Linked DNA regions of Homo sapiens: all the other regions are linked to region 1. Evidence: promoter capture Hi-C in 16 types of primary human blood cells and fetal thymus (Javierre and others, 2016). All regions are on one chromosome and are shown on one strand. Each heading gives the region's core, a stretch centred on a gene start or on the middle of the fragment in contact. The rest is flanking DNA. Distances are from core to core; before and after follow the strand shown. Region 1 holds the start of FNDC5 (fibronectin type III domain containing 5). Region 2 overlaps AZIN2 (antizyme inhibitor 2). Region 3 has its middle 12 kb from the start of AZIN2.

The links. Contacts are between HindIII fragments. The CHiCAGO score rates a contact against its expected background, and 5 or more counts as called.
Region 2: a contact is called between a fragment that was not itself captured here and the fragment with the promoter of FNDC5 in region 1, in 1 of 17 cell types (endothelial precursors). The highest score is 5.2, in endothelial precursors.
Region 3: a fragment that was not itself captured here is called in contact with the fragment with the promoter of FNDC5 in region 1 in 4 of 17 cell types (endothelial precursors, erythroblasts, neutrophils and 1 more); the score reaches 9.3 in endothelial precursors.

The regions. Positions count from the first base shown.
Region 1 is chr1:32,869,108-32,872,379 of GRCh38, forward strand. It overlaps FNDC5 (fibronectin type III domain containing 5), which reads right to left and starts at 1,805. Exons shown (of 6, transcript NM_001441683.1): 1 at 1,546-1,805. The coding sequence starts at 1,783. The HindIII fragment of the contact is 9,260 bases long and covers 1-3,272 here.
Region 2 is chr1:33,114,553-33,117,824 of GRCh38, forward strand. The region is part of intron 10 of AZIN2 (antizyme inhibitor 2); the gene reads left to right. Among named protein-coding and RNA genes, the nearest start is that of AZIN2, 35 kb to the left of the region's middle. The HindIII fragment of the contact is 1,356 bases long and covers 811-2,166 here.
Region 3 is chr1:33,067,336-33,070,607 of GRCh38, forward strand. No RefSeq gene overlaps it. Among named protein-coding and RNA genes, the nearest start is that of AZIN2, 12 kb to the right of the region's middle. The HindIII fragment of the contact is 9,006 bases long and covers 1-3,272 here.

The DNA.
Region 1 (3,272 bases), core at 555-3,054:
GAAGAAACTAAGGCCTCAAGTGGGGTCCAGTGACATGGCTCTCAGCTCTTCAGTGGGTTGAAGAACCAAGCCCAAGAGGCCCCAGGCTCCTCATGACTGGGACGGAAGCCCCTGCTGGCCACAGGCCGGCCCCATGAGGGGTCCAAGGCTCAAAGTGATGGGCCTGGGCCGGGGCCCTATCTAAGGGATGGGTGGTTAGAGTTGTGGAGAGAGTTATGTAGGGGACATAGGTGGACAGAAACTGAAGGTTAGCTGATGAAAAGCAGACAAAAGGACTCCCCAGTCCAGTGCTCTTTTGACAATACTGCCCTGTCCAATGAGTGACCTTGCGCGAAGGAGAAAGACCCAGAGATCGAGAAGTGTCAGGCTGGGGTGAGCCCTGGACTGGGAGTGAGGAGAACAGAAGTATCCTCAGAGCTGTGGTGGCCCAGGCAGAATAAAGCCTGCGGAAGAGTCTGTGTGAGCCTCTTATCCATGCTCTTCCAGCCCCAAGATGCAGGTGGGGAGGTGGCAGGGGAAGATGGGGTCACTCAGAGCAGGGCCCCTCCATGGCGAGTGGAGAGGAGAGAACAGGTAGGGGAAGAGGATGAATGAGGAATCACTCCAGAAGAGACAGGAGGGAAGTGGGGGTGAGAGTGATAGGGATAGTGGGGGTCAGTGAGGAAAACCGTCCAGGAGAGGGGCAGTGCAGTCACATAAGGCTCAGTATCTTCCAAGGGGCAGGTGCAGCACGGGGCAGAGCTGCGCCTGAGCAGCACCCCTCACCCCACAGAGAGTGAACTTGAGACCCAGGGGGCTGGGCCTGGGACCTGAGGGAGACAGAGCCAGACATGGAGGGGGAGGTGGAGAGACAGGACACAGACAGGTGGTGGCAGACACAGAACCAGAGGACAGAGAAGTGGGGCATCTGAGAAAGACAGCTGCGAGAGAGCGCTCCCCGAGCCACGGAGGGAGAGATGAGCCGGGCAGCGGCAGCCAGGAGGGACAAAGACAGAGTGGCAGGAGAGGCTGGGCAAGGACGGGCCGGCCCCATGGGGCAGGCCAGACACTGTACCAGATCAGGGGTGCCGGGGCCCACCCCACGCCCTGCGCCCTCAGGTGCCAGCCCCCATCCCCTTCACACGTGCTCCTGCACAGCGGGACCCCATCTGCCCCTGCAGAGTTGGCTTGCAGGGCTTTGAGAGGTCCTGGGGACACAGAGAGAGGCCCAGGTGGGGGAACTGGTGTCCTCAGCTGCTCCCTGGGTCAAAGAAGGGAGCTAGGGAAGCTGAGGCAAAGACCTGGGGTTAGGGGAATGGGATTAGGGGACTGGGGACCACAAGACCCTAGGAAACCCAGGGCTGAGGTGACAGGGGAGATTTGGAAACTGAAGGACAGGTCTGGGGGTCAAGGAGGTAGGAAGACGCTGGGGGCTGGGTTAGGGGAGCAGTGTTTGGGCCGAGACAGGAGTCCCTAGGGGGCAGAGAAAGGACCAGGGGACTCCCAGGTAGCTGGGCTCGAGAGGAGCCTGCCCCGGCGCCGGCCCCCCGCCCCGGGCCCCCTTACCCGCCTGCACCAGCGCGAAGCAGACGCAGCCCAGCCACAGGCGGAGCGCGGCGCGGGCGCGGGGCGGCCAGGCGCTCGGCGACCCGGGGTGTATGGTGGCTCCTCCGGCCGGCAGGCCCGGGGCGGCGCAGGGGGACGCGGCTCCGGCGCCCGGCGGCCGCTCGCGCTCGCGCTCCGGCCCCCGGCCCGGCCGGCCCGGCCGCTCCGGCCGCCCTGCGCCGCCCCGAGCCGCCTGCATGTCGGCTCCGCGGACAGCGACTCCCGCGCGGCGGCGGTGGCGGCGGCCGCGTCCACGTCGGGCGCCCGGGGGGCGGGGCGCCCCCGCTGCGGGGAGAGGTGCGGGGGCGGGGTGAGGACCGGAGGGCGCCCCCACTCCCGCCCCCGCTGCCTATTAGGTCCTCTGCCGGGGAGGAAGGGGCTTCGCGGACCCACGGCTCCCGCCCTCTCACCGAGCGGGAGCCCAGCGGGGTTCTCCGCGCCCCCGCCGCGGTCACTCTCTCTCCCGTGCACAGCCCTGACTTGGCTGCCGCTTTCTGCCCTTTCCCAGGGTAGAGAGAGGACAAGTGCCACCGAGATGCCCGTTTGTGCCCCCACCCCTAAGCGCGCCTCCCTTCCCTGGGCCTAGGGATCCCCTCATTCCACGGTAGACCCGAGGCCTTGCGGCTGGGGCAGACGGGAGCAGAGGGGAGAGATCACAGTAAGGCTGGGGTGAGCAGAGAGTGCTAAGTGGACACTAGGGCTCCGTGTTTCCAGTGGGGTTGGGAAGAGGCTGCTCTGTCTCACTGGAGAGTCCAGCTCTGTGACCCCAGGCCAGTCCTTTTCCTTCATTTTCATCCCCATAGTGAGGGCAGTAATGAGCGTCTACCAGGGGCCAGATACTATGCTGAGCTTTCTTTGCATTATGTGGCTTAATTCTCAGGGCAACCCTGTAAAGTCATACTCTGCACACTTTGCACAGGAGGAGCCTGCAGCTTGGACAGGCTACTTGACTTGTCCAGGGACCCGCAGCAGAGCCAGGATTTGAACACAGGCTGATCTGACTCCCAAAGCTGTGCTTAACTGAACTGTCTCCCCACCCAGAGTGACTTCACCCATCCGGAGATTCGTGAGACTCTAGAATTGGCCGGGGCCAGCTCCTCCCCAGCCAGAAAACAGTCTGCAGCAATCTCTAAGAGCATCTCTGAGAAGGGGAGTGGCTCCAGCCCCCTTCCCTCATCTCAGCCAGAGAAACAAGGTGGAGGAGAGAGGCATGGACCAGGGCTCAGGGCCTTTTGTCTCAGCAAGAACCCCTGAGCCCCCTCCCACGACTATCCGAAATTCCACTACTAGCGGGGCATTCCTTTGGGTCTTAAAGGTTTTCCAGAAGCCCTGGAAGGGCTAATTTTCTTTGGAAAGGAGACGTCTTGCAAAGTTCTGCCACAGAAACGTCTTCAGGGTCTTCCTCTCCATCCCCCTGGTTTTACATTAAGGAAGTGAGGTCTACCGATGGGAAGAGCTTGGTGCAGATTCACACAGTGGGTCAAGAGGAGCGATAGACAACCCTCCTCTCCTTATGCCCACCCAGGACTCCTTCGCTGGCCCTGTGTTCCTCCTTGGTCACCTTGGAAGGGGTGAGATGGAAGCGAGCTTAGGGGCTCTTGTTGAGCAGCAGAATTTTCCTGCCCATCCCCTCAGTGCCCCCAGACCTGCCCCACTCGGCAGGGTGACACTGCCCAGCCCTATCATTT
Region 2 (3,272 bases), core at 239-2,738, 250 kb after region 1:
CCGTGTTAGCCAGGATGGTCTCGATTTCCTGACCTCGTGATCCACCCACCTCAGCCTCCCAAAGTGCTGAGATTACAGGCATGAGCCACCGCGACCCGCCTTTTTTTTTTTTTTTTTTTTTGAGATGGAGTTTTGCTCTTGTCACCCAGGCTGGAGTGCAATGGCTGGATCTTGGCTCACTGCAACCTCTGCCTCCTAGGTTCAAGCGATTCTTCTGCCTCAGCCTCCTGAGTAGCTGGGATTACACGCCCAGCTAATTTTTGTATTTTTAGTAGCGACAGGGTTTTGCCATGTTGGCCAGGCTGGCCTCAAACTCCTGACCTCAAGTGATGCGCCCGTGTCCGCCTCCTAAAGTGCTGGGATTACAGGCGTGAGCCACCGCGCCCAGCCTATTGATTTATTCTTTAAAAGTTGAAGAATTATTTAGGGATTCCATCAAGGCCGTGCACCTTTTTCAATGTTTGACCTTGTTTTTTCTGTGGCTCTGTCAGACATATGTGCCTTTGAAGAAGGCAGCTAGGTGCAGCCAGGAGGCTCCTTGTCTGGGACTGCCCAGAGTTCTACTAACTCCCCCTAGAGCCTTGGGCAGGTCACCTTCCCTCTCTGAGTTTTCTCATCTGTAAAATGGGAATGCAATCATGCCACCTGCCTCCCAGATAAGGTATGAAGTGGTGGTGGTATGCTTTGTAAATGAGGAACCCCCTGCCCTCTCTCACAGAGGGGCCTAGTGGCTGGCAGACTGGGCATCTTGGATTTTTGCAGATGCTTGTCCATTTCCACTCAGACTTGTAAAAATAGCTGAGATTTACAAGCTTGTTGCCACAGCTTTTAGAATATTTATTTCACAGATTCCTTAAAAAAAAAAAAATAGGCTGGGTGCAGTGGCTCACACCTGCAATCTCAGTACTTTGGAAGGCCGAGGTGGCGGATCACCTGAGGTCAGGAGTTTGAGACCAGCCTGGCCAACATGGCAAAATCCTGTATCTACTAAAACTACAAAAATTAGCCAGGTGTGGTGGCCGGCACCTGTAATCTCAGCTACTCGGGAGGCTGAGACAGGAGAATCGCTGAACCCAGGAGGCAGAGGTTGCAGTGGGCTGAGATCACACCACTACACTCCAGCCTCGATGACAGAGTGAGACTCTGTCTCAAAAAAAAGTTAAATAGATACATAAATAGTAAAAGCGTAGCTTTGCATTATGTCATGTGAAGATTTAAAATCTTTTTTCACCTAATTTTTTAAAATTTACACCACTAATAACAAGTGAGGGAATGCTAACTTCTTATAATCCAAGGGTGCCTTTTCTCTTTACCATGGAAGAATCTTTAAAATTTATTTTCCCAAAGATCCTTGTAGATTCATTTATAGAGCATCCCCTCCACTCATCTTTAAACATTAGCTTAATGTTTTTCAATGAGTGGGGCTAAGGGAAATAATTCAGACCACTTGAGGTTAATTTTATTCATCAACAAAAAGTTTATAAACAAGAATGTTCAGTTATATGAACAAGGATATACAGTATTCCTTTGTCTCCCCTTCTTAGAATGGGAGCTTCATGACCACAGGAATTTTATTTTGTGTGTGTGTTTACTGCTGCATCTCCAGCTCCTAGATCACAGCCTGGCAATTAGTAGGTGCTCAATAAGTACTTGTTGAATGAATGAATTCCTGAAGATTGGATAGCTATCATTCTTAACTTACATAATGTACATATTTTTCTTTATTAATGGGACTAATAGCTTATTAACTTTTTATCAAATATATGAGCACTATTTCTGCTTATGGAAACTGCGACTTTTCTTTCTCAATTTTACTCATTCCTGCTCTGGCTAAGGTATTGAAACGCCTTTCCTTTTTTCTCTGCTGGTCTTCTCTGTTGCTTCCATCTATGCCCTTTGGATGGCTTCCATTCATATCCTTTTTCTCCCCTTTGTCATTCTTTCTCTTTCTCATCACTCATATATTCCCCATTCTTTAATTCATTTATTTAAAAATATTATTTGAATAAGCACCTAATGGATGCCAGCCTGCTAGGCATTGAGGAGATGGGGATGACAAGACCTACACATCCCCTGGGCTCATGGAATTTATAGTCTTCAGGGAAGACAGGCCTGAGCAGATATTTCACAAATATTTATGAATTATGGTAAATACTACGAAAGCAAAGCTTGAGGGAGCATGGAGCTTTAGGAAAGGCTTCCCTGAAGCCATTTTAGCTGAGATCTAAAGGAGAAATAGGAATTTGCAAATTTGGGGCCTCAGGGAATAGCATGGGGGAAAGTAGGAGGTATGGGAAGGGAAGTAGGGTTTACCTGGGGAGCCCAGAGCAACTGGAGTAACTGGAGCACAGCAAGTGCAGTGATGGGAGAAGAGGCCTCTCAGAGGGCACAGTCATCATCATCCACATTTCAGTGGTGACTCTAGGATCTGCCTGGCAAGATCCCTGCCTACACTGTGGCAAATGGCACTGATAACTTGGTTGTCCAGAGTCTGTTACAAATTTCTGGATTTGGAAATCATTTAAGAAAAAATCTTAAATTTTATGTCATTGGTAGTTGTGTCTTTGGGCAAGTCATTTAAGCTGTCAGAGCCTCCATTTTTCTGAAATGGGAGTAATTGTGTCTACTCTGTGGGGTCCTCTGTGACCTCTGCCAGGTCCCCCTGTGATTGTTGTTGGAAGTCCATCTTTCTCATTAGACTGAGGGCCTGAGGGAGGGTGAGTCTAGCCTGGTATACTGCTGGCTCCTGTTGTGGGGCCTGGCATGGAGTGAGGACATCTGGGAGGGCTTCATAGACGAGGGAGCCCCAGGGCTGGGCTCAGAAGACAGGCTAGATTTGAGGGTCGGGGAAGGGCTGTAGAGGTGTGGACATATCGACGTCTGGAAAGAGGCCAGTGAAGACCAAAGTGCAGAGGTGGTAACAACAGCAATCACAACAATAAGTTACAATTGTGCTGACTTTCTGTGCACCCTCGCCGTGTGCCGCCACTGTTCTACATGCTCTCCATACACTAACTCATTTATCCTTGCAGTAACCTTACGAGGTAGGTACTGTTGTTATCCCCATTTTACAAATGAGCAAACTGAGACATGGAGAGATTAAGCATTTTGCCCAAGGTCACACAGCTAACAACTGCTGGAACCTGGATTTAAGGCCAGGCATTCGTGACTTCAGAGTGTAAGAGGCAACGAATGCAGAGAAGTGGGAAGGGCCTTAAATGCTAAGCTAGGAGGCCCATCTAGACTTTATCCTGTTGGCTATGGGAGCCATA
Region 3 (3,272 bases), core at 514-3,013, 200 kb after region 1:
TAACGTAGGAAAGAGAATATGCTTGTGTTTCACCAGGAGATCATCAAACAAAAACCACAAAGAAAAGACGTCTGTGTCACAGACTGCCCTCAGACGTAGTGAGATCTGTGCCGACTCCTCAGAAGCAGGCACACCAAATCACAATGGGTCTGATTCAATCCTCCCTGATGGCAATGGAGACCCATCTAACTAATCCCACTTCTAATTACCTCTCTTTTTCTCCTTACAAACCTAAAAATCTCACCATTTCTATTAGCCTGAAAATAACATCCCTCTGTTCTCTTCCTCCTTCAGCACTCAATCTCATTTACAATAGGTTTTATTTAATGATTCTCCTCCTTATACTTTCTGTCTCACCAGTTTCCTCTCACACTAATTTACCTTCTACACAAAATTATTCTTATTGGGCTTATGTGCCTTTTCCTCCACTTATTTGACCTCTCACCTAGATTGATGCTCCTACAAAAATCTACACTAACAATAGTGTGTAGATGCCTAGAGCTACAGATGACCATTGCCTTGCTCAACCAGGAGAAGAAGGCACTGCATTTAATGTTACCATAGGTTATAAATACCCACCTCTGTGCCTCAGACACGCACCTGGTTGTATCCATCTAAAAACTCAAGTCTAGGCTGCTTATCTTCCGGAGAGATCAGCTACAGAAGAACCAGGACATTTAGTCTCTGGCCACTCACTTTCTCCTTTAAAACAAATGAAAGGGGGAATAATGGGAGGTACCCCATACTTTCAATATAAACCTGCAGGAAAACCATGCCCTAAAAATTTTGAGGGCCCATCTAAAACTTTAATTTGGGAAGATTGTGTTAACTCACATGCAGTAATATTAAAAAATGACTCATACGGTTTAGTAATAGACTGGGCACCAAAGGGCTATTTAAAAAACAATTGCTCCTCTGGTGGAAAGGAATGCCTGGAGGCTACTTATTTTATTTCTTGTCAGGAGAATGAGAATCATCATTCCACTTTGCATAGGAGGTTCAGCTCATTCTTTCCCCTAAAATGGGAAGATAAAGGCACCTTTTCTAACCTTGTTTATGACACAGAGACATTTGTTCACATGTTTTCCTGCTGACCCTCTCCCCACTATTACCCTATTGTCCTGCCACATCCCCCTCTCCGAGATGTCAGAGATAATGATCAATAAATACTAAGGGAACTCAGAGACCGGTGCTGGTGCAGGTCCTCCTGGTGCAGGTCCTCCATATGCTGAGCGCCAGTCCCCTAGGCCCACTTTTCTTTCTCTATACTTTGTCTCTGTGTCTCTTTCTTTTCTCAGTCTCTCGTCCCACCTGACGAGAAACACCTACAGGTGTGGAAGGGCAGGCCACTCCTTCAGAAACACATTCTAGACAAAATACACATGGACATATTTAGGTGTAAAGTGGCTTTATGTCTGCAACTTACTCTCCAACAGTTTAGAAAAAATAAATAATTTATCCCTCTGTCTATCCATATCTATCCATCCATGTATTCACAAACACACAAATATATATATTTGAATGGAAAGCAAAATTGTCAACATGTTAACATTTGGGGAATCTGGGTGAAAGATATATACTATTTTTGGAAAGTTTCTGTATGAATTTCAAGATAAAACTTTTTTTAAAAAAAGGATTTATAGGTCGGGTGCAGTGGCTCATGCCTGTAATCCCAGCAGTTTGAGAGACTGAGGCAGGCAGATCACTTGAGGTCAGGAGTTCAAGACCAGCCTGGACAACATGGTGAAACCTCATCTTTACTAAAAATACAAAAAACTAGCTGGGCATGGTGATATGAACCTATAATCCTAACTACTCAGGAGGCTGAGGCATGAGAATCGCTTGAAACCGAGAGACAGTGAGGCGAGATTGTGCCACTGTATTCCAGCCTGGGCGACAGAGCAAGACTCCGTCTCAACAACAACAAAAAAAAGCAAAAAGGATTTATATTATTATATTTTTAAAAAAGCATTTCAGGCAGAAGGGGTAGCCTGTGCAAAGATCCTAAGGCAAAAGAGTGCCCTGGGGCTGGGTGCAGTGGTGGGGGGATTACTTAAGCCCGGGAGTCCAAGACTAGCCTGGGTAACATAGGGAGACCCTCTTCTCTACAAAAAAATTTGAAAACTAGCTAGGCATGGTGGTGCATGCCTGTAGTCCCAGCTACTCAGGAGGCTAAGGTGGGAGGATCATTAGAGCCTGGGAGATAGAGGGTGCAGTGAGCCGTGATTGTGTCACTGCACTTCGGCCTGGGGGACAGAGCAAGACCCTGTCTCAAACAAAAACAAAAAGAAAAAACAACCCCCAAACAACAACAGCAACAAAATAAACAAACAATAATAAAAGACAAAAAGAGTGCCCCAGTACGTAGGGCAACACTCAGGGTGCTGATAAACAGAATAAGAGAATCCATCGGCATTTTTTTCCTGGCTAGAATTCATCCCCCCTTTTCACGTTACAACACCCCATTTTTCTACTGGAGAACCATACCTTCCCCACTCTCATTCTATATTGTAAGAATGGGGCTGATCTCATCTTGGGCAAGGGGCTCAAGCCCCAGGTCTGGCCAATCAGAGATGTGCACATCAAGGAACCTGGCCTAGGAGGCAGTGGCTGGGGTCCAGGGTGGATTGGAGGATAAGCGTGTGTGGTGGGGGGGGGTTGCTGAGAGCCTGCCTGAGGTAGAAGCCCACTCCAAGGAAGGCAGCACTGAGACTCGAAGCAGAACAGATCCCAGTGACATTTTTGAGCTCTTGGATTTAGTCTTTGTGTCAACTTTTATCCCTCAGTGACTTTGTCACATAAGGCAATGAATGCCCTTTTTGCTTGAGACAGTTTGAGTTGGGTTTTCCCCTACTCAAAATGAAGAAATGCGTTTAGTGATCCAAAGCGTCAGGGACAGCCTCTCTGAGGAAAGGACATTTCAGCCAAGACCTAAAGGATGAGCAGCAGTTGGTCAGGTGAAGAGGTGGAAAAAATGTCCCAGAGGAACAGCAAGTGCAGAGGTCCCAAGAAAGGAAGAAACATGGCAGGTTCAATAAATTGGAAATGCTGGGTGTGGTGGCTCATACCTGTAGTCCCAGCTACTTGGGAGGCTGAGAGGGGAGGATCACTGGAGCCCAGGAGTTCGAGACCATCCTGGGCAACATAGTTAGACCCTCATCACTAAAAAAAAATTAGCCAGGCATGGTGGCACATGCCTGTAGTCCCAGCTACTTGGAGGCTGAGGTGGAAGGACCCTTGAGCCCAGGAGTCTGAGGCTGCAATGAGTTGTG